Linked DNA regions of Homo sapiens: all the other regions are linked to region 4. Evidence: promoter capture Hi-C in 16 types of primary human blood cells and fetal thymus (Javierre and others, 2016). All regions are on one chromosome and are shown on one strand. The core of a region is centred on a gene start or on the middle of the fragment in contact, and the rest is flanking DNA. Distances in the headings are between cores, read along the strand shown.

Evidence for each region. Contacts are between HindIII fragments. The CHiCAGO score rates a contact against its expected background, and 5 or more counts as called.
Region 1: a fragment that was not itself captured here is called in contact with the fragment with the promoter of RWDD4 in region 4 in 1 of 17 cell types (non-activated CD4 T cells); the score reaches 5.2 in non-activated CD4 T cells.
Region 2: the fragment with the promoter of CFAP97 here is called in contact with the fragment with the promoter of RWDD4 in region 4 in 7 of 17 cell types (naive CD8 T cells, total CD4 T cells, naive B cells and 4 more); the score reaches 10.6 in naive CD8 T cells.
Region 3: the fragment with the promoter of CCDC110 here is called in contact with the fragment with the promoter of RWDD4 in region 4 in 6 of 17 cell types (total CD4 T cells, naive B cells, activated CD4 T cells and 3 more); the score reaches 10.7 in total CD4 T cells.
Region 5: a fragment that was not itself captured here is called in contact with the fragment with the promoter of RWDD4 in region 4 in 1 of 17 cell types (total CD8 T cells); the score reaches 5.4 in total CD8 T cells.

Annotation. Positions count from the first base shown.
Region 1 is chr4:185,181,941-185,186,232 of GRCh38, reverse strand. All of the region lies in intron 2 of CFAP97 (cilia and flagella associated protein 97), which reads left to right. Among named protein-coding and RNA genes, the nearest start is that of CFAP97, 20 kb to the left of the region's middle. The HindIII fragment of the contact is 974 bases long and covers 1,387-2,360 here.
Region 2 is chr4:185,202,228-185,206,582 of GRCh38, reverse strand. CFAP97 (cilia and flagella associated protein 97) reads left to right here and starts at 2,583. Exons shown (of 5, transcript NM_020827.3): 1 at 2,583-2,685. It also overlaps a transcript of SNX25 not described here. RefSeq lists enhancers at 1,431-1,520, 1,631-1,740 and silencers at 2,500-2,671, 2,281-3,050. The HindIII fragment of the contact is 9,685 bases long and covers 1-4,355 here.
Region 3 is chr4:185,468,962-185,473,410 of GRCh38, reverse strand. CCDC110 (coiled-coil domain containing 110) reads left to right here and starts at 1,678. Exons shown (of 7, transcript NM_152775.4): 1 at 1,678-1,737; 2 at 2,362-2,466. The coding sequence starts at 1,728. It overlaps LOC105377590 (a long non-coding RNA gene), which reads right to left and starts at 1,980. Exons shown (of 2, transcript NR_133944.1): 1 at 1,651-1,980; 2 at 1,148-1,296. RefSeq lists a silencer at 1,464-2,093. The HindIII fragment of the contact is 5,122 bases long and covers 1-3,297 here.
Region 4 is chr4:183,657,288-183,661,674 of GRCh38, reverse strand. RWDD4 (RWD domain containing 4) reads left to right here and starts at 2,490. Exons shown (of 8, transcript NM_152682.4): 1 at 2,490-2,746. The coding sequence starts at 2,723. It overlaps TRAPPC11 (trafficking protein particle complex subunit 11), which reads right to left and starts at 2,382. Exons shown (of 30, transcript NM_021942.6): 1 at 2,228-2,382. RefSeq lists silencers at 2,071-2,360, 2,731-2,940, 2,755-2,975 and enhancers at 1,707-2,494, 2,451-2,580, 2,495-3,283. The HindIII fragment of the contact is 5,102 bases long and covers 515-4,387 here.
Region 5 is chr4:185,145,342-185,149,641 of GRCh38, reverse strand. It overlaps SLC25A4 (solute carrier family 25 member 4), which reads right to left. Exons shown (of 4, transcript NM_001151.4): 3 at 3,743-3,883; 4 at 1-2,828. The coding sequence ends at 2,671. Among named protein-coding and RNA genes, the nearest start is that of SLC25A4, 4.2 kb to the right of the region's middle. The HindIII fragment of the contact is 1,469 bases long and covers 2,271-3,739 here.

The DNA of each region.
Region 1 (4,292 bases), core at 624-3,123, 1.5 Mb before region 4:
TGGAACTCCTGACCTCAGGTGATCCACCTGCTTCGGCCTCTCAAAGTGCTGGGATTACAGGTGTGTACCACCTCGCCTGGCCCACAAGTAATAGTTTCTTAGATGTTAGTTGCAATGTGAAATCTGAAATTAATCTCAGTTAACTTTTAATCGTGAATTTCAAGTCTGTTATGTTAAAACATATTGATCTTTCTTGATTGATTTTTAATGTATATTTTACCTATGCCTGGTTTTGGAATGTGACATATTGGGTATTTGGAAAATATTGTTTCACTGAGCTTACAAATGTTGGCAGGCCAGGTACAGTGGCTACGCCTGTCATCCCAGCACTTTGGGAGGCAGACGTAGGCAGATCACTTGAGCCCAGGAGTTTGAGACCAGCCTGGGCAACATGGTGAAACCCTGTCTCTACAAAAAATACAAAAATTAGCTAGGCATGGTGGTGTGTGCTACTGTAGTCCCAGCTGCGGGGGGAGGTTGAGATAGGAGGATCTCTTGAGCCAGGGAGTTGGAGGTTGCAGTGAACTGAGATCACGCCACTCCATTCCAACCTAGGAGACAGAGTAAGACCCTGTCTCAAAAAAAAAAAAAAAAAAAAAGGTTGGCAAATTTCAGAATACATTATATAGAAATCATAGTTGTTAATATCACTACCAGCCTCATCAGAAAGCTCTTGAGAAGCTGTCAAACTCATGGTGGCAGATACAAGTTTACCTAAAATACTATTTTTTGCTAAAAAGCTCAAATTTTATTATTGGTAATAAATACTGTCAACTGTTTTCCTTGAAGTGACAGAATTGTTCTTTAAAATTATATTTGTAATGCAAAAATTGGATGGTGGTTGAAATTAAATCATAAAATATCATGAGATAATGCAGATTGCTCACTAATATTGTGTAATAACATATATCTTGATATATTTGCCTTTTTTCTTGTGCATCAAATTTCTATTGCTGCATTGCTCTTCGTTCATAATTCTTACTGTGATTTGTATGTGTTGAACCCATTTCCTGTTCAGAAAAAAAAAAGTACAGCTCACTGCCAGCACTCATTTCTTGGGGCAAATGGGAAACGTGTTAAAAAGTTGCAGCCTATTGTTTGGCATTAAAAAGTATTGTTCTTATAAAATTAGGTTAAAAATGGGTTGAAAAGAGAAATGTTCTAGAAGATAAATTAAAATGTTCAATATGTCTAGTGGGCTTTATTTTTTAAATATGGGCTTGTTTGACTAAATCATAATTTTTATTTTTAAGGGGACACTTCCGTTTTTTAAAATCTTGTAAGTACTATTTGTTCCCACAAATTATAAACCCCACTGTATCCTAGGAAAGAGGATTAAAAAACGAGCATACAAAAGGAAGGTATTGTTTCAGCCAATAAAAAGCTTCTTACAGGAAGAAAACACTCAACTCTTAGAATTGTCAAGTTTTTAAAAACCATCTAATAGAAAATAGTCTGATTTCTGGGCTTTTTGTTCAGAGTCATCAGTGATTATCCAGGATTTTGAATACAAGAAGGGAATTCCGAATGAAACAATATTTCTCATATAACAGGTCACCCAAAGACACGCTAGACTTCAGGGTTGATTGAGTGGCTCAAAACTTCATCAGGGACCTACTTTCTAGCACTGTGTTCCTCCAGCCCTGGTGTTGGCTTCGTTCTTAGGCTGCTAGGAGATGTCTGCAGCCGTTTTCAGTGTTCACCTTCAGACACAACAGTGTCCAGAGGAAGAGACAGTGTCTCTTCTCTGACTCTTGGAATGGAGGAAACTTCTTAAAGAAATTTGGCCCAGTCAACATCCACATAGGTCTCCTTGCCCAGAACTGGTTACGCTCCCATTCCCGAACCAGTCGTTGGTAGGGGAAATGGGATTATCCTGGGCCAAGCAGGCTCACCCTGGAAGTCAGGGATCTGTGAAGTAGGAGGAAAATAGATATACAGTAATTGGGCAGCCAACTTTGTCCAAGAGAGCTTCTCAAACTTCAGTATGCATACGGTTAACCCAGGGATACTGTTAAAATGCAGATTTGGGTTCAGTAAAACTAAGGTAAGAGCTAAATCGGCATTTCTAATCAGCCCCTACTGGTGATACCCGTGCTGCAGATCTAGGGACCATGGTCTGAATATCAAGACACTGAGTAAACTATTTGGTTCCATTGAAAATAAAGCATTCTTCACTCTTCCTGTCTAACCCATTTCTGAAACTTAATTAGATATAGAGAACCTAAATATTTTTAACTTTTAAATAAGAAAAATAATCCTACCCCAAACTCCTGAACAGTTCCCCAATTATAATTAAATTGAAATACTGTTAAAAAGCATTTAACACAGATGCTGAGCTAAAATGTAGAAGGGAAGCTTTATTCATAGTACTGCATAGTAAAGAACCCCTGATAGAAGAGATTTGCCAGTAGGTGGCGCTCAGGGCTTTTTAAGGCGCAGGAACAAACATGGCATTTTGCCAGTTGGTACATCTGTTATTGGAGTCCATAATATAACAATCCACCAAGGATTCTTCATAATAATAAAGCATTTTAAACACTAATTAGGACTGTCAGTCTATTATATAAGGTATTGCAATCATTTTTCAAAATTATCATTCATGCTCGATTTACACAGTGAAGCATTTCAGATCCAAAATTATTTTCCTATGTTTTCTTTATTTTCCACCATATAACTGCAACTGTGGTCATGGTAGGTGGATATGAATGCAGAGCCAGGCTTGTGCCTTTTCTGCATTCATCTCTCAATACACTTTATCACTTCTAACTTACACTAAATAAGCTTTTCTAGGCTGCTTTGGCTTACCTAATTTCTTCACTGCCTTTTCTACTTCCTGGAACATAAATCCACTTAGTATGGGGAGGATGATGGTGAAGACAACATGTGAGCCCATCAGAGCACAGCTGAGGCAGGAATGCAGCATACTCTCTGCATCCTTTCAGTTTAAACATTTTCACGGACTTCAGTACAGAGGTTCGGTAAACCAGTTTACTGCTTAAGGTAGTGAATACTAAGTAAAAAATTTTGCAAGTTAACAGCCATATTAGGTGAGAGTTCAGATAATGAGGGATACCTGTATAGCCAACCACATCAACATTTTATTGGTTTAAAAGAACCTTTTTTTTTTTTTGAGACGGAGTCTTGCTCTGTCACCCAGGCTAGAATGCAGTGGCGCAATCTCAGCTTACTGCAGCCTCCACCTCCCGGGTTCAAGTGACTCTCCTGCCTCAGCCTCCCGAGTAGCTGGGATTACAGGCGGGCACCACCACGCCCAGCTAATTTTTGTATTTTTAGTAGAGACGGGGTTTCACCATGTTGGCCAGGCTGGTCGTGAACTCCTGACCTCAGATGATCCGCCCGTGTCAGCCTCCCAAAGTGCTGGGATTACAGGCATGAGCCACCACGCCCAGCCCGTTTGTTGTTTATGAAATAGAAATTTGAACTATAAAATATTAAGCCTATGAAACAAAGATTGATAAAAGAATGTAAAATTGAATCTACCAGTATAGGGCATGGAATGACGAGACAGTGTTGAACCAAGGTAAAGACAGTTTTGAAAGTGGAATAAAACTTAGGCTTCTGGGTGTTACCGACATGATCACAAACAAGACAGCAACTGTTCTGAGCTTCAGGCACTCTATTTGTAGGAGGAGATTGTTGATATAGGTTGCTAGGGTCCATTCTAACTTCAGAGTTCTTCGGGTTCTGTGAGAAATAGTGGAAGAAGGGAAGACCATTGCATAGTGGCAGTATTAGATACAGGACTTTGAAGTGGATCTTGAAAGATTAGTCGAATTTCTGAATATTCAACCTCTTTTAGCTCAAGGGTGGCTGACTTGGGGAATTTTCCACCTCCATGCAAAGCTGCCTTTGCTATGTAAATGTCAAAAAATGGTTGGAATTAGATCCTTCATCTTGACCTGTAAATCCCTGAATAGGCAGAGAGGGCATTAAAAAAATGGAGTAGTAAACAGAAGTTTAGACATCAAGTTATGGTATGAATCTCACCGATTTGGAGAGCATTGAAGACGTTGACCACACTAGATTTAAAGGTATGTTTCATATTTTGTATAGGTAAAATTAGGTCACTTTAAAAAGAATCTGAAACAGCAAAAATTTAAAATATTTTAGAAATACATGGCCTCAAAATCTACTATATAAACTATGAAATAATCACTACAGGATGTATTTTGAGAAGAAAAATAAATACAAGAAATGGGATTGAAGAAGCATTGATGAGCAAAGAAACTGGTTAAATTTTTTGCTAAAGTGATACCAACGTGTGAGGG
Region 2 (4,355 bases), core at 1,334-3,833, 1.5 Mb before region 4:
GGTTCAAGAGATTCTCCTACCTCAGCCTCCCGAGTAGCTGGGATTACAGGCATGCATCAGCATGCCTGGCTAATTTTTTGTATTTTTAGTGAGATGGGGTTCATCGGGCTGGTCTCAACCCCCCGACCTCAGGATCTGTCCACCTTGGCCTCCCAAAGTGCTGGGATTACAGGAGTGAGCCACCATGCCCGGCATACATCTTCCATTCTGTCTGTCCTGCAGACCATCTTAATGTTGTTATGTGGACCAGAGGCGCACAAGTCATGGGCTGAATAATATTCCATTTTATGTATCTACTACATTCTGCTTCATCTGTCTGTTGATAAACAAACACTTGAGTTTTTTCCGCCTTTTGGCTATTCTGCTATGAACATGGGTGCATAAGTATCTGTTTGAGACCCTGCTTTCACTTCCTTTTAGTGTATGTCCAGAAGGGAAATTGCTGGGTCATATAATTCTATGTTCAAGTTTTTCAGAACATGCCATACTATTTTCCACAGTGGCTGAGTATGCTACATTCTCACAAGCAATGCATAAGGGTTTCGATCTTTCCACATTCTTGCCAATCCTTATTTTCTATTTTTTTGACTAAAGCCATCGGTATCTCATTGTGTTTTTGACTTGCATTTCCCTAATTAGTGGTGTTGAGTATCTTTTCATGTGTTTATTGGCCATTGGTATATTTTCTTTGGAGAAATATCTACTCAAGTCCTTTGTAAGATAAACTTTTGACCACAGTTTGTTTATTTATTTAGAGACAGGGGCTTGCTCTGTCGCCCAGGCTGGAGTACAATGGCGTGATCTCAGCTTACTGCAACATTTCCCTCCTGGGTTCAAGCGATTCTTCTGCGTCAGCCTCCTGAGTAGCTGGGATTACAGATGTGCACCACCACACCTGGCTAATTTTTGTATTTTTAGTAGAGACGGAGTTTCACCATGTTGGCCAGGCTGGTCTGGAACTCCTGACCTCAGGTGATCCGCCCACCTCAGCCTCTCAAAGTGCGGAATTACAAACGTGAGCCACCGCGCCGGGCCAACCACAGTTTAACAACTATCCCTGGAAAGTGGTGCCAACACAGTTTTATTAAGCACTTTAAAAGAAAGTGAAATTCTTGCTTTTTTTTTTTTTGAGACACAGTCTTACTCTGTTGCCTAGGTTGGAGTGCAGTGGCACGATCTCGGCTCGCTGCAACCTCCACCTCCGGAGTTCAAGCGATTCTCCTGTCTCAGCCTTCCGAGTAGCTGGGACTACAGGCTCACGTCACCACGCCCAGCTAATTTTTGTATTTTTAGTAGAGACAGTGTTTCACCATATTAGTCAGGCTGGTCTTGAACTCCTCTCAGGGGGCCCCACCCGCCTCGGCCTCCCGAAGTGCTGGGATTACAGGGGTGAGCCACTGCGCCCAGCCAATGCTGTCTTTTAGGCAACAAAAAGAGAATTGATTATACTTTTGGTAATTAAGACCAACAAGTACAAAATGCATTGTGAAGGACGAAAATAGACAATCCTTACTGGAACTCCCCGGGACAGGCAGGGTAAGACCCATATTTCCTACCCTTCTTTGCACTTAGATGTGAACAATATTTATTAACTACTGGATTGTATACCATTGCTGCTATAACAAATTACTACAAATTCAGTAGTTAAAACAACACAGGTGTATTGTCTTACAGTGCTTAAGGTATTAAGTCTAAAATCAAAATTTGCAGGCTCTAGTTCCTTCCTGAGGTTTCAGGAGAGAATCCGTTTCCTCCTTTTGCAGCTTCTACCTGCACTCCTTGGCTCATTGCCTCTGACATCACTCCAACCTCTAGCTTCTGTGCTCACAGCTCCCACTACTGACTTTGAACTTCTTGTCTCCATCTTATAAGGACCTTTGTGATTCCATGGGGTTCACTGGATAATCCTGGTTAATCTTCCCATTTTGATCCTTAATCACATCAGCTAAATCCTGTCTGCCACATAAGGTGACATATTCACGTGTTGTGGGGACTAGGAGGTGCACATTTTTGGGGTGCCATCATCCTACCATACCTGAGAGTTCAACGAGAAGTTATTGTATTCAATATATTCTGCAGAGATCATTTTTACCTTAGATTGTTTTAACTACCCACCTCGTTTACCACTCGGCAAAGGTCTTTCCATTCTGAAACCAGCCTCTGGTCCACAGAACTAACTAGTGGTATGAACTGAAATTTGCTGATAGAAAATATCACAAACACACAGCCGCCGTTCTTTTTTATTCTTGGTTTGGTAGAGAATTACAAGATAATCAAGGCAGCTTTCCCTATTAACGCACGAGAACAACGGGGCCTACCCGCGCCGCCCTAGGCAGCCGGGAGCAGCAGTAACGCCTCTAGGGCGCCATGGCAACCACGCGGGCTGGACCGCCTTCTTCCGCGGCTCTTCTAGTGTGCGCGTCCCTGGCCCGGCCTCCACTCCGCCCGCGTGGAGCCCCGGCCTGGCCGCCTGCCCGCCGCGCTCTGTGACGCCCGCCGCGAGGGCCGCACGAGGCCCGGCGTGCGCCCCCGCCTCTCCCGAAGCGCCGGGCCCCACGCCGCCCCTCCTTTCCCTTTCCGCTCTCTCCGCCTCCGGAAGCGCGGGCGCGCGGCGCCGGGAGCCCGTTCAGGGCCGCGGGAGTGCGCCAGCGCCGCGCGTGGGGCTGTGGTGGCCGCGGCTCTCAGGTGAGGGGCGCGCGAGCGGCTCCTGGCTCCCTGCTCGCGGGGCGCCCGCCACGCTCCTTTCCGTTCGCATCCGTCTCCCCGCTCCGGAGCCCAGGCGGCGGCGAGTACTCGGGGTGGGTTTAACGAAGCCTGCGCGGACGGTGGGAGACCGCGCCCCCACGACAGGGGCGCCCGCGGCGGCGGGTCGCGGCGCCGTTCCACCCCGGTCCCCTGTGAGAATGGCGGGTCCCGCCCTCTCGCGCGTTCCGGGTGGCTTTGAGGGTCAGGATCAGCCCTAAATTGAGATTGGGCCGCGACCACATGCCGGGCCCTGACGACTTCTTCCTACTTGTAGGGACTCGAACCTAACCCACGAGGCCCGAGGGGTTATCTGCCTTCCGGGGACGGTAGGGGATGTAGACAAGAGCCTAGCGTTCCTGGAAACAGGTGTTTAATTTGGGCCGGGATTTTCATGTACCCAATTGGGCATCTTGTTGGAGGCCTACTGTGCTGTTTAACTACAGAAATGTATTGTCACAGTAACAAGATGACAGTTTAAAAAGTGCCCGGTGCTTTTCTGTGTATTTTCCTGATGTTTGGTGAAAGCATTAGTCTTGTTATTGCTGGTCTGTAGGACCTGGCAAGTGGGGCGTGCCCAGTGACTCTCAGGCAGCTTTGATAAAAACTTACCTGTCTCTTTTTTTTATTTTTATTTTTTGAGACAGGGTCTCGCTCTGTGGCCCAGGGTGGAGTGCAGTGGCACGATCATGTCTCACTGCAGCCTCCCAACTCCTGGGCTCAAGCGATCCTCCTGTCTTGGCCTCCCAAAGTCCGGGGATTACAGGCGTGAGCCATGCCCCTCCTGGCAAAACTCTGTCTTGATTGAGCACCAAAGGGTTGTTATGGTCTGATGAACTATCCTTTAATTTTATCCTTTCCTAGTCTGTTGTAAAGAGAATCTTAACTACTTTATTAAGTCATTTTTCTTATTCTCTGGTAAATTGAATCACTTACCTCGTAGTAAATGTTATCAAAAGAATTGCTCAGTGGATGGGATTGTTGGGTAAATTTTCCTGTAAATTAAGTCACATGAGTGTCGAAATCTTTACAGTAACTCTGTTGGATATTATTAACTAAAATTTAAACCTGAAAAGTCTCACAGGCACCGGACTATGCACCAGGGCGCATGAACTGTGACCACTTAGGGAGGCAGCTGGCTTCCAGCTCTTGGGGACTGCATGACCTTATCATGGAAATGCAGATAAAGGCATAGTTGTGGTTTGTGCTTCCGGAGGGGTGGGGGAAGATGGCAGGAAACTATCAAGGAAACTGGGTTGAAACCCGGTGATTTTTTTTGTTTGTTTGTTTTTTGAGATAGGATCTCACTCTGTTGCCTAGGCTGGAGTGCAGTGGCCTGATCTCGGCTCACTGCAGCCTCAGCTCCCAGGTTCCAGCGATTCTCCCACCTCAGCCTCCGGAGTAGCTGGGACTACAGGCGAGAGCTACAACGCCCGGCTAATTTTTGTATTTTTTGTAGAGGTGGGGTTTGGCCATGTTGGCCAGGCTGGTCTCAAGCTCCTGGGCTCAAGTGGTCTGCCTGCCTGGGCCTCCCAAAGTTACAGGCATGAGACTGTAACATGAGCCACCGCACATGAGCCTCCATGCCCAGCCACACACATACAAGGCGATTT
Region 3 (4,449 bases), core at 429-2,928, 1.8 Mb before region 4:
TTCCTGATCTATCTTTGCAAGGTTTGCAGGCTTTCAGGCTGCTCTTTGTTAGAAAAAAAAATGATTTCTTGAGCTGTTTTTTGTTAGAAGTTCTGCTGAAGACTCTTTTGCCCTATCTGCCTAAATAATTTCTATCTCCTGAATCATCAATATCAATCAGCAATGCAGACCATAAATTCTCAAAATTATAATTTATTAAAATTGTCTACAATGCCACAAGAAAGTCAAATCTTCTAGAGCCCATTTTTTTCTTTCTTTCTTTCTTTTTTTTTTTTTTTTTTTTGAGACAGAGTGTCGCTCTGTGGCCCAGGCTGGAGTGCAGTTGCACTATGTCGACTCACTGCAGCCTCTGCCTCCTGGGTTCAAGTGATTCTCCTGCCTCAGCCTCCCGAGTAGCTGGGATTACGAATGTACTCCACCATACCTGGCTAATTTTGGTATTTTTAGTAGAGACAAGGTTTCACCATGTTGGTCAGGCTGGTCTCGGACTCCTGACCTCAGGTGATCCACCCGCCTCGGCCTCCCAAAGTGCTGGGATTACAGGTGTGAGCCATCATGCCGGACCTAGAGCCCATTTCTTTTCTTTTTTTTTTTTTTGTTTGTTTTTTTTTGTTTTTTTGAGACGGAGTCTGGCTCTGTTGCCCAGGCTGGAGCACAGTGGCGCCATCTCGGCTCACTGCAACCTCCGCCTCCTGGGTTCAAGCGATTCTCCTGCCTCAGCCTCCTGAGTAGCTGAGATTACAGGCGCGTGCACTAGAGCCCATTTCTATAAGAAACAAATTAGAGGAAGTAAGCACTGAAACTATCATAAGAAGTTTCATTTCAATGAAAGCAAGCCATCATGTATTACTTATTATATATTATATGTTATTATATAGCAAATTATGATATCCTGGTGATTGTGATTTTGAATTTTAATTTTCTATGTGTGATGGTTTACTACAAAATAAATAATATATACTCGTTTAAAACTTTAAAGAGCACCATTTTCTGATGGGCAGGAGGATTAGCTGGGGGCACGCACCCAGTCCTTGGTTAAAGGAGGTCAGGTTTCCCGTGAACGCAACATCAATCCTGCACGTGATACACCAGGTGCGTAAAAATTAACATGCTTAGACAAAGGAAGCCCACCGTCGCTTCCCACAGCTTTCATGAGCATATTTTAATACATGTTTAGGTTAATTCATTATTGAAAAATAGGAGTCTTCTTTTCATTGCAGCAAACAAAAGTCCTTTCACAATATTGGTCATGGGCCGTTCAAATCCCCAAATGCTGAAACTCCTCTGAGGGATGCGCTGAAATGAGAGGACTAAGAATTAAAAAAAAAAAACAACAGCGATGAAGTGGAGATGTGGAAAGGCAAAGGGAAAGCTCTCAGGCGTGTGTCCGTCCCCGGGCGGTCCCTTTCTCCGCACCGCTTTGGTCCGGCGGGTACCGCAGCGAGTCCGAGTGTGAGCAAGCCCGTCCCGGACAGCCGCGCGCGTGTGCGGGGAGGCGCCCAGGTGGGCTGTCCCAGGCCAGGTTCCCAGGGAAGCTCTCGGGGAAGCGTCCGGAGTGAGGAGGGACCCACCGGGACCCCACCAGGGACCCCAGCCGAGCGCGCGCCGCCGAGGGTGGGGGTGGGGCCGGCGCCCCGGCCACCCGGTTACCTGGCGACAGGATGCCCTGCGCGGGGCGGCGGAGCGGGTGCGTGCGGCGGCGGTTGCGAGAGAGATGAGCCGCGGCGATGAGCCCGGGTAAGAGTTGGACGGGGCGGGGCTCCTAGGGGAGCCGCGGGAACGGAGGGCAGCAGAAGGGCATTCAGCAGGCGGCTCCCCGCTCGAAAACCCGGGACATCCCGGGTCCGCCCTTCTGCACTCGCCGCACATCTCCCGCTCGGCCCTAGGGCTGAGCACCCGCTGCGGCCCCCTGCGTCCGCTGTGGCTTACAGGCTGGCTACGTGGTCTGCCGCCGCCGCCCGCCCAGCGCGCCCTCGGGTGGCCGCTTGCGGAAAGCGCCGCGCCCCGCCCCAGGCCCGGCCTGATGCCGTCCCTCCGCCCCATCCCTCCGCCCCGCCCCAGCCTTCAGCCTTGACCCCGCCCCATTCCTCTGCCCCCACAGGTCCCGCCCAGTCTCTCCGCCCCATCCCATCCCTGCGCCCCGCCCCAGCCTTCAAACCCGCCCCCTCCTAATTCCCTCCGCCCCGCCCTCCCCGCCCTCCCCGCCCCCCCGCCCCAGCCTTCAGCCCCGCCCCCTCCTAATTCCCTCCGCCCCGCCCCAGCCGTTAGCCCTGCCCCGCCCCATCCCTCTGCCCCGCCCCCACCTTCAGCCCCGCCACGCCACGACCCGCGACAGAACAGCCCCGGACGGTTCTGTTACAGAAAAGCAGCACCGGGAAGAGGATGAAGTTGACTCCGTTCTCCTTTCAGCGTCCAAGATCCTAAATTCTTCGGAGGGGGTGAAGGAAAGTGGCTGCAGTGACACAGGTAAAATCGCCAGACCGTAAAAGGCTCCTTTAACTATACACAGGCGGCAGCATCTGGCCTGTGCCACCTGCTCACCTGGCGTGCTTCCCACGGCCGTGATGACACGGACAGCAGCCACCACGGCACTCGCGCTTTGTGCCAGTGCTGTTCTAAGCACGTAATGGATCAACTGTTTAATTCTCACAACACTTTTACGAGGTGGGTGCTACCACGATCCCCATTTTGCAGATAAGGAAACGGGCACAGAGAGGTTAACTCCCTAAGGTCACACAGGCAGCGAGGAATGGAGCGGGCATTCAGCAGGGCGGCTCCGGACTGCCTGTCTTCACCACCACGCTACGCTCCGTTGCTTCTCTGAATGCTAAGTAAGAATTGTTGAGTTTTTTGGACACACACTAAAACGATATGCAGTCAGCCCTCGGTATCTGGGAGTTCCGCATCCTTGGATTCAACCAACCACAGATGGAAAATATTCAGGGGGGAAAATTTTTAAAAATAACAGTACCACAATTTTTAAATGCAAATTTTGAACAGTATAACAGCCATTTACATAGCATTTACATTGTATAAGGTATTACAAGTAATCGAGAGATGATTTAAAGTATACAGCAGGATACACATAGAAGCTATGCAAATACTACCCCATTTTGTATTAGGGACTTGGGCATCTGCAGATTTTGCTATCCGCAGAGGCTCTGGAACCAATCCCCTGTGGATATCCAGGGAGGGGTGTATACCTTTTCTAAAGAAAACTACTTTTTATAGTAAATATTTACGGACTACAGGATATTATATGGGGAGGATGTTTGAAATAGCCACATAGCTAAAGCTTTCAAGCACCACATAAATTATGAATAAGATGGGGGTACCCAGCTAGGGGAATCTGAGGACATTGAAGGTGGAGTCCCAGGCGACTGACTACACGCCTCTCAGAGGAGCCTGCTGTGAGGGGACATGCCGGGGAAGGAGCAGAGCACGGGGCAGGAGAAGGGTCTAGACTGATGTGCCATGCCCGGACCCCCAGTTGCCCCTCTGTAGGATATGGGCAATCCTGATGCCAAAGTGCTGAACCACAAGAGGACTGAGGTTGGGACAGGATTTCTGCACCTCCACCATGCAAGATCTTCACAAAAAGCCTTGTCAGGGCCCGGAAAGAAGAGACTAGAGCAGCCACACCTCAGTAGACAGAAGACACCCGGGTGCCCAGGCACTACCAGGATGAGCAACACCCCAGTGGAGGCCAGCAGGACAGGCACTGGCCAGTCCCCTCTCCGCCCTCCTGCCTCCACCCTTGAGATATGCAGGTTTCCCTGGGCAACCAGGAGGGGCAAAGGGGCCCCCTGAACGAAGGAGAAAGAGTCCTCACAGAGAGTTGAGACATTGAGGTAGCTCCGTATTTACCTCAAAGAGAGCATGTAAGGTCAGAAGAAATAGAAGTACCTTAATTTGGCAAGATCACATGTTTTTTGACATGAATGAGGCTTAGGGTTCTGGAGAAAGATGCCAACATTTATAGAAAATAGTTACATGCAAAATAGCACATGTACATGTTTAAGAGTTACAGTCTTTCTTGCCAGAACACAGTGTTTACAGGTCTGGGGTTGACACAGGACAGGTTCTTAATAAACACCAGTTATCTTGAGTCAGGGGCCACCCAGGAATTTCCTGCCTGCAACTATAGGCAAAACTAGGAGGTATGGCTGGCGCCCTTCTCTCTACTCTCCTACTGATGCTTTCATTGTCACCAAGTGATCCATTCCCCGTGTACTGAGAAAATAATGACCTGATTTGCATAACTACTGCCAGGTTACAAAGAGTTATAGAATGTTCCCAAGGTGTCTCTGATTTCAGAACTAGTGGTTAACCTAATTAACCCTTATTGGAATGGGTTTGTGAGAGACTTTTGAATTTGAGGGTGTCCAGGGTGTTGTTCCCAGCACCCTGTTGTACCCGAGCTTTCATTCATTCATTCGTTTGTGGAGC
Region 4 (4,387 bases), core at 1,241-3,740:
ATCTGGCCGGGCGCGGTGGCTCACGCCTGTAATCCCAGCACTTTGGGAGGCCGAGGCGGGCGGATCACAAGGTCAGGAGATCGAGACCATCCTGGCTAACATGGTGAAACCCCGTCTCTACTAAAAACACAAAAAATTAGCCGAGTATGGTGGTGGGCGCCTGTAGTCCCAGCTACTCGGGAGGCTGAGGCAGGAGAATGGCGTGAACCCGGGAGGCGGAGCTTGCAGTGAGCGGAGATCGCGCCACTGCACTCCAGCCTGGGCGACAGAGCGAGGAGACTCCGTCTCAAAAAAAAAAAAAAAAAAAAAAAAAGGTAATCTACACCAGTATACCAGTATATTATGGAGAAGTCTAACACAATCTTTGTGAAAAGTGAGGCACACTTAGGCTAATACCTAATCCCCAAAACATGGAATATTTTCAACTGAAAGGTTAATTTAGGAAAGACTATTAGTCTTCTCATGTTTACATACTGAAAGAACAACAGGTATTCAATAAATGATTTGCAAAGCTTGCCAGAAATGTCTACAACAGATTGTTTTAGAATTGTTTAAATATTTTTAGGACAGGATTAAGTTATGAGGGCAAAGGATTGCATGTTCAGAGAAAGAAACAGTCTAGTTCTGGGTAATGTAGGAATGAAAATTAAAAAGGGGTGACCAGGCTGGGTACAGCGGCTCACGCCTGTAATCCCAGCACTTTGGGAGGCCAAGGCGGGCGATTCACGAGGTCAACGGTTCAAAACCAGCCTGGCCAATAGGGTGAAACCCCGTCTCTACTAAAAATACAAAAATTAGCCGGGCATGGTGATGCGTGCCTATAGTCCCAGCTACTCGGGAGGCTGAGGCAGGAGAATGGCTTGAACCCGGGAGGCGGAGATTTCAGTGAGCCGAGATCGCACCACTGCACTCCAGCCTGGGCAACAGAGCAAGACTCCGTCTCAACAACAACAACAAAAAACAAGTGACCAAAATACAATACGGGCCCCTTTGCTTAATATGAACGAGTCTAGACTAGAGGCCATTTCCTGTAATAACTCCAGAGGCCCAAAAGACATAGCTGTGGTCTTTAAATATGGAGTTGAAATAAGAGGAACTAAAAATGACTGTCATCCAATAGAAATACAAGTCACATAAATAAATTAAAAATTTCTAGCAGTCATATTAAAAAGTAAAACGTGGATGGAATTCATTTTAATATTCAATTTAACGCAGTACAGTATGTCCAAAATATTATCATACTGACAATAATATAAAAGTTATTAATGACATATTTTACCTTTTTTTGTACTGAGTCTTCAAAATCTGGTGTGTATTTCACACTCACAGCACATCTCAATTCAGACTAGCCTATTTCAAATGCCTGATGTAGCTACTGGCTACAGAACTGGACAGCAGAGATCTAAATTATGGGAAATGTGTCCCAAAATTGCTGCACGAAAATTGTATCAGAAAGTCTTGCCACATTCTCCTATGTCACCTGAAATGGTCGTGCTTATTCTGCAGCAAAGGAATTTGAATGAGAACCCCGATAACGCACAGGCGCAGATCGAATGGATTTCAATGACAGGCTGGAAGGAGAAATTTTCAGATATCCAATGGAGCAACCAACGAAACTATACACGAAAGGAGGCGCAGCTATAGAAGGTGAATAATGGATGGGAGATCAAGTAATGCAAGGGAAGTAAACTGGAAACTAGCGTGAAAGATAAGAAAGGTGACCCAATCAAATTGGCAACTAAAAAAACCCCAAAACCTAATGTGGTTACTTTTTTTTTCTTTTAACTAACTGGAAGTTCAGGGTGTTAGGACACAAGGCTGCTAAGAATGGGATTCAGAGATGTTCAACTACAAAACGAACAAAAGAGGAACGACAGTGTGGGGACGAAATGATGTTTCGATGTTAAAGATGAGAAGCAACAATCCAACGTAGGAGAAACACCGTCCCCATGGTCCCAGTATCTGTTCTGGTAGCTCCAGTGAGGAAAGGTAGAGAAATAACCTTGCAGTCCCTAAAGGCAGATATCTTCCTCCTCTTATTCCCCCGTCTTAAACCTGGGAGGCCCTAGAAACGGGTGCGTCTTTCCTCGGGTCTAAAAGAGAAGTGCCAGGATTGCACCCGTCGATGGGATTGCAAAACGCAGGCCCCCAAACCAGCATTGTTAAGAGCTAGCTCTCTTCCTCGGCGGTCCCGCCTGGCCCCGCGGGTCTCCGGGCCCGGACTCACCCAGGCCCCACGCCCCGGGCCCGCTGCAGCTGAGGCCGGTCGCCGCCAGCCGGGAGAAGACGAGGGGAGGCGGGGGGATGTCACAGAACGCCGTGGCCCGTCCCCACCGCCGCAGCCCCACAGCCAGTTCCAACAGGCGAGACTTCCCTGTACCCACCTCCCCCGGCACAGGAAGCACTTTCTGGGCCTGAGTGACCGCGCTCTACACCAATCGCTGTCCCGGAACTTTACGCCGCTCCTCCAAGCGTCAGGGAGACGCTGCACTTCCCAGGCCCCACCAGCCGCGGCTCCGGCTCGTAGCCCACAGCCCACTGCCGGCGGCTGGGCGCTGCCGAGGCTCGGGGCGCGCGCAGTTGGCGTCTGCCAGTGCCAAGACTGTGCCGCCCCCACAGCCGAGGCGCGAAAGGGGGACGCCCGGCCTCTGGGCCGCTGCCTTCGCTTTCTCTTCGTTGTTGCGAACGCCGTCCGCTCAGGAGGCGCCCCGCGACCGGCGCGATGAGTGCCAACGAGGACCAGGAGGTGAGCCCCCCGGCTCAGGGCCCTCTCCCAGCGCGGGCGCGGCGCGCAGCCCCGGGCCCCCGTGAGACCTGGTGCCCGGACAGCCTGCCCGGCACGTGCCCTGTGCCCTCGGAGCCGGCCGGGGTGCCCCGAGTTCACCGGCGTCCCACCCAAGCGCGCGTGAATGGCCAGGAGTCCGCCTCTGCCACTCTTCCCCCCTCATTTTTCATTTTTGCAAATCCGGGAGTCTCCCCTGGTTACTTAATAACAGGGATGAGCGTCCTTGGTGCACGATCCAGTGCTCTTGGCTCTCCTTGAATCCCATGTGTTCAGTGCCTGTTTACTGAGTTAGGCTGATCACCTTTAAATTTTAGTCTGGTCATCTTTAAATCTCTTGGCTAGTAGAGGGCTAATTGAGTTAGTTACATTTCTCATGGAAGAAAATGACACTGGTGGTGCATCTGAGTTTCTGTCCATATTGTTTGGGGAAATCTTTTACCCATCTGTCTGTTTTGAGCATTCATGTACCACCTGAATTTATGGTTTATGCTCAAATATTTCCTTGTGAGATGCCATTTTGACATTGAATCATATAATATTAGAGTTGGGGGGTGGGTGCTACGGGCCATCTGTAGGGGAACCTTCTAACTTTGATAGGTGGGTCGATGATAGCCGCAGGGCTGCACAGTAAGTACGTGGTAGAATCGGGACTAGAAACCAGGTCTTATTGGGTGGTAGATAAGTTCACTGTTAATTTAAAGTATAATGCTTGAAACTTACTACTTTTACATGATAAATGTAATAGAATCTCTGGATTGGAAGTTAACCTTTAAAGGACCCAAAGTCCAACAAGCTAGCTAGTTGATATCTGAATCTCTTCTAAAATATTCTTGCCGGGTGAATTTCTAAGTGAATGCGTTAATAGCTTCTTCTCCCTGCAAAGCAAAGAACATACAGTGTAATGTTTCTCAGAGTTGGACCATAGTCCCCTACCTTAGAACCATTTAGATGGTTGCTAGAAAACAGATGCGTGCACTCCACCCCAGACCTACTGAATCAGAATTTCTGTGGTGGGCCCAGGAATCTCCAGTTTAACAAGAAAATTTCATTCTTCTTTCAGATGACCGATGTTCTGATCTTTGAAGATAGTTTCCTGCCCAGTTTCTCAGACCTTCTCTGAGGAAGTGGTTCCTTTTAGCTTGTCTTCATATATCCATTCTTTGTTAATCTCTTCACTATCCTGGAATCACGTGTTTGTGGACAGATTTTAATTTTTTAAATGTCCTGTTTCAAAATTGTGGCATCTTGCTGTTTTGTCTAGTTAAATTTACTGTCAACTGAAATCTTTTAAGTGCTTTATACAAAGCAATTTGTCTTTCATCTTCAACTTCTACATTTAGGTATCTGAGTATTGATACAAGTTCTACTTACCCTGCTAAATTTCATCATTAGCTTGCTTTTCAAAGACTTTTTGGATTCTTATTCAGCCATCAGCATTATTCACTGTCCCAACAAATTGTCATCCACAAATTTAATAAACTTGCCTCCTATTTTTGTACCTGTCCAAGTCATAAATTAAAATATGGGAAAGGATTAGGGACAGAAGGAGTAGTACTATATCTTGAGTAAGGTTTTTGTTCCAATCTAATCTTAGTTATTCTT
Region 5 (4,300 bases), core at 1,756-4,255, 1.5 Mb before region 4:
TTCCAGCATGAGGCAGCTTTGCACAATGATGGTATGGCGTGCGGGTAGGTTAGTGAGGGAAGTACTGCCTGTTCTCCCGCCAGATCCCAGCACTCTCAGAGGCTGAGGGTTCTAGGAATTCATGGTGAGTTAAGTAGCTGCGGTGAGGAACTAGCTCAGCAGGGCCTGGGGCAACGTGCATTAGAGGTAACCTTCGCAGGAAGCGGAAGGGCTGACATCTGGGTCACATGCAGAGAATGTAGATAATGTGCACTATGTAATAAATGTCCATGCCTCTTCCCTCCCCATTCCATGCCAGGGTTAAAGACGGAACACAATTACACTTCTTGGTTGGGTTGGGAGGACGCACTGTTCATTCATTGTATCAGGTCTTCCTCCTCCTAAACTTGGGCCCTGCTTGGAGATACGCTCCATCAAAGCACTTGCCCACTACTAGCCTGCCCTGCTTTTATTCCCTATCAGCAATAGAGTTTGGATCACTTAGAACGAAAAGCAACAGGAGGACAATGGATCCAGGAGGCCTCTTAACTGCACATGTGCTGCCTGGCCTCGAGGAGACAGGATGGAGAGGTACCTTCTTTTTAGCCCTTTAGACTTTATTGGCCTAGATATCTACCAGGTGAGGTCAGATGTGATCCTGGATTTTATAAAACTCAGACCTTGGTAACTGTGGTAAAAGCAACACAGCCAATTTTTAGCTGGGGAGGCAGGAGTGAGTCGGTGGAAGGGCTTGGTAAGCAAGGTAAAGAACAGGAGGTACAGAGACCAACCCCCACCACCCAACCACCTGTCAGAAAACACAGAGAAGACATTTGCCTGCCTTTCAAGCTTTGCCAAGGATACAGGGACTTGCTTCCTCCAGATTAGTCACAATCCAGGAGACTATAGCAACTGCTTGGTCTTTTCCTGGTCCAAGTGTGAACTTTCCAACCTGATAGTCTAAGTATTTTCCTCTGGCTCGCAAATCTCGGAGGAGCAAATCCAAAACTGACTTCCTGTAGGTCTTGATAAATTGTTACAGAAGTACTGGAGGATGCTTTCTATACCCATGTTTCTAAATCTGGTTATTTTCTTTCAAAGCCTCCATCTCCTACCACTCCCTCCCCCCATTTCATTTCCCTTCTATTCCTTCTCAAGCAAGATGTATTGTCTTAAACAAATTGTCTAACAATGGAATTTCACCTTTTCTCCCCAACTGAAGCATCTTTCAGGGCAGGTTCCTATCTATTTTCCCTTCCACGGGGCCTAAGAGGTATTAAATACTAGCTTGATAAGTGATGCTATGGACTGAATGTTTGTGTCCCTTCAAAATTCATCTGTTGAAATCTTAACCCCCAAAGTGGTGGTGTTTGGAGGAGGGGCATTTGGGAGGTAATTGGGTCATGAGGGTAGGGCCCTCATGAATGGGATTAGTGAGCTTATAAAAGGGACTACAGAGAGCTCTGTCGCTCTTTCTGCCATGTAAGGATACAAGAAGTCCGTAGTTTATAACCCAGAAGAGGGCCCTCATCAGAACCTGACCACAGTGTCACCTTGATCTTGGACCTCCAGACTACAGAACTGAGAAATAAGTTTCTGTTGCTTATAAGCCATCAGTCTACAGTACCTTGTTATAGTAGCTTAAACTAAGACAACTGATTTTCTTTCTTTTTTTTTTTTTTGAGACAGAGTCTTGCCCTGTCGCTTAGGATGGATGTGGTGGCATGCCATCTCAGCTCACTGCAACCTCTGCCTCTCGGGTTCAAGTGATTCTGATGCCTCAGCCTCCTGAGTAGTTGGGATTACAGGTGTGCGCCACCACACCCAGCTAATTTTTTGTATTTTTATTAGAGATGGGGTTTCGCTCGGTTGGCCAGGCTGGTCTCAAACTCCTGGCCTGAAGTGATACGCCCACCTCTGCCTCCCAAAGTGCTGGGGTGACAGGTGTGAGCCACTGCACCTGGCCTTGATTTTCAATGAATACTCTCTACTTAACATAAAATTCTAGGTGTCACAGTTATCTAAAGGGATGAAAACAGAGCACTTCCTAATCATAGAAAATTCTCCAGATTGTGATTTAAAACTTTTAGCAGAATCTTAGAATTTCTAAAGACTGCAGGAAAGTGCCTAAGACAAGGCAGGATTATGAAAGCCATTATCACTTTCTAGCCTACAGTAATGCTGGATAAGATAGATAGAATATGACCTGCCTAAGTTTGAAAACCGGAACTTTAAGCATTGTACGTTCTCATATAATACATTCTCAATATAATATCTGGCATTTAGAAGCTTGGCTGCTGACTGATACATGAATCATGCTAGAAAATATGCATTTTTGATCTTTTAAAAATGCATTTTACAGTTAATAAGAGTTCAATAAAATAGAAAGCGTGCATTAAGTGGTCTTTATTGATGTTTCACATTCAGTTATTATCAATTCTTCAGTTAATTGTACAAGTATGATAAATTATTTTCTATTTGCTGTGGGAATTTAAATGTAAAATAAATACAAAATACATGTGTGGTTTAATGAACACTCAATGAAGCATCTCTTCTGAGGTATTCCTTTCAGTCTGGTTTTATCCCAGATCTTTTTACTTCCCCTAGGAATAGTCTATTAAACCACACAATGGATCTGTGAACTTGTAGATCAAGTTCACTGTAAATCTGTGAACTTGTGTTTTAATTACATTAGACATATTTTTTGATCTCATCATACAACACCAATACAAAAGCACCGCCCATGCCTCTCAGCACATTGGACCAGGCACCTTTGAAGAAGGCCTTGGCTCCTTCGTCTTTTGCAATCTTCCTCCAGCAGTCAACTGTCCCCGTGTACATAATATCGGCTGTGGAAACAAATGCTGGTGAGGGCTCCGTAACGCTGGAGGAAAGAGACTTTTCCCCTGAAACATATCTGTACACACTGTTACCAGTTTTATAAAATCAGGGTCATCTGGGCATGGAGTCCCAGCTCCATGCAACATCCCACTGGACATCTCCTTCCTTGCTTCACTGGCAGGCTGGGTCTCCTGTCATTCCTACTCCATTAGTTCAAGGTCAGTGAAGAACTGGGGCAATTAACCAAGTAATTCATGGACTGCCCAACTGCGAAACAAGAAGGGCGCAGTGGAGCAGGAGTATTATGCTACGCGGTTACCTTTTTTTATGGAGGACCGAACTGAGGCCGAGCCTCAGATGATCCTGCACGAGGTTATGCAGTCTAAATAAAAGGCTGTAACTATTCGTTGAAACATACGAAACTGCTAACATTGGACTGTTTTTGACTTTTAAAGTGGCAATTTCGTATGGTTCAACCTATAGAAGCCAAAACTTTCTCTGGCACAACAGATTGCTTCAGGCCATCTCTACCCAGCTAAACACCCCATCCCACTAACACCTGTAACTAGGAGGGAAGCAAGAGTTCTTTGTAAGAAGTAGCTAACTACTTCTTTTCCCTAGCTTTTGCACCCAGGCTCTAAGGGAAGAGGGCCTAGGGTCTCTATAATGCTGGATACCTAGTTAAATTCACATCTAAATGTCTTACTATTCATGTTCTTATCATCTCTAATAAAATGGAAAATACTTTTCCCTAATAGGATAGTTGAGAACGTTAGGGGGAATTAATACCATCTTTCTTCCCTAAGTCCTTATCAAATAATTTTGAAAATTAATTTCCAGTAAGGAAGACTGAAAGGAGCCCTGTAAAATGTTCTCCTCGGGCAAAACCAAACAAGTTTAGATGAGTAGAGCACAAGCTTACCCCCTTTCCGGCCGGACTGCATCATCATTCTACGACGAACAGTGTCAAAGGGGTAGGACACCAGCCCTGCGACTGCCGTCACACTCTGGGCAATCATCCAGCTCACAAAAATGTGCACGTTCTTGGGGTCAGGCAGCATCCCTGTGGACAGAGCCCAGAAGCCGAACGGCTATGAAGTGCCTGTTCTCAGCAGAAAGCAGGTGGAGGGAGAGAGGCCACTGCACCTCCAGCTCCATGCTCTGACCTTGCGGGGAACCTGCCCCTGTGCAGGTGCTTCACATATGACCAGGCAGACAGCAAAGGTGGCTGCTGCCCTCTCCGGACCCCGGAGGGGCAGTGCTCAGCTTGTATACAGGGCATTGGAAGTGGCTTCAAGTTAAACTCAGTAACTGCTATGGCTGTGTCTAGAGGGAGACAGGCTCCCCCCTCCTCCTCTCTGAATAACTAAAGGCCAGAGTTTATTTCAGTAGAGGACACAAGGAACGCTTCAGCTATTAACTTATGCACATCACCTCCTCATTCAGAAGCCTCAATTATCCCAGAGACTAGAAAAAACAA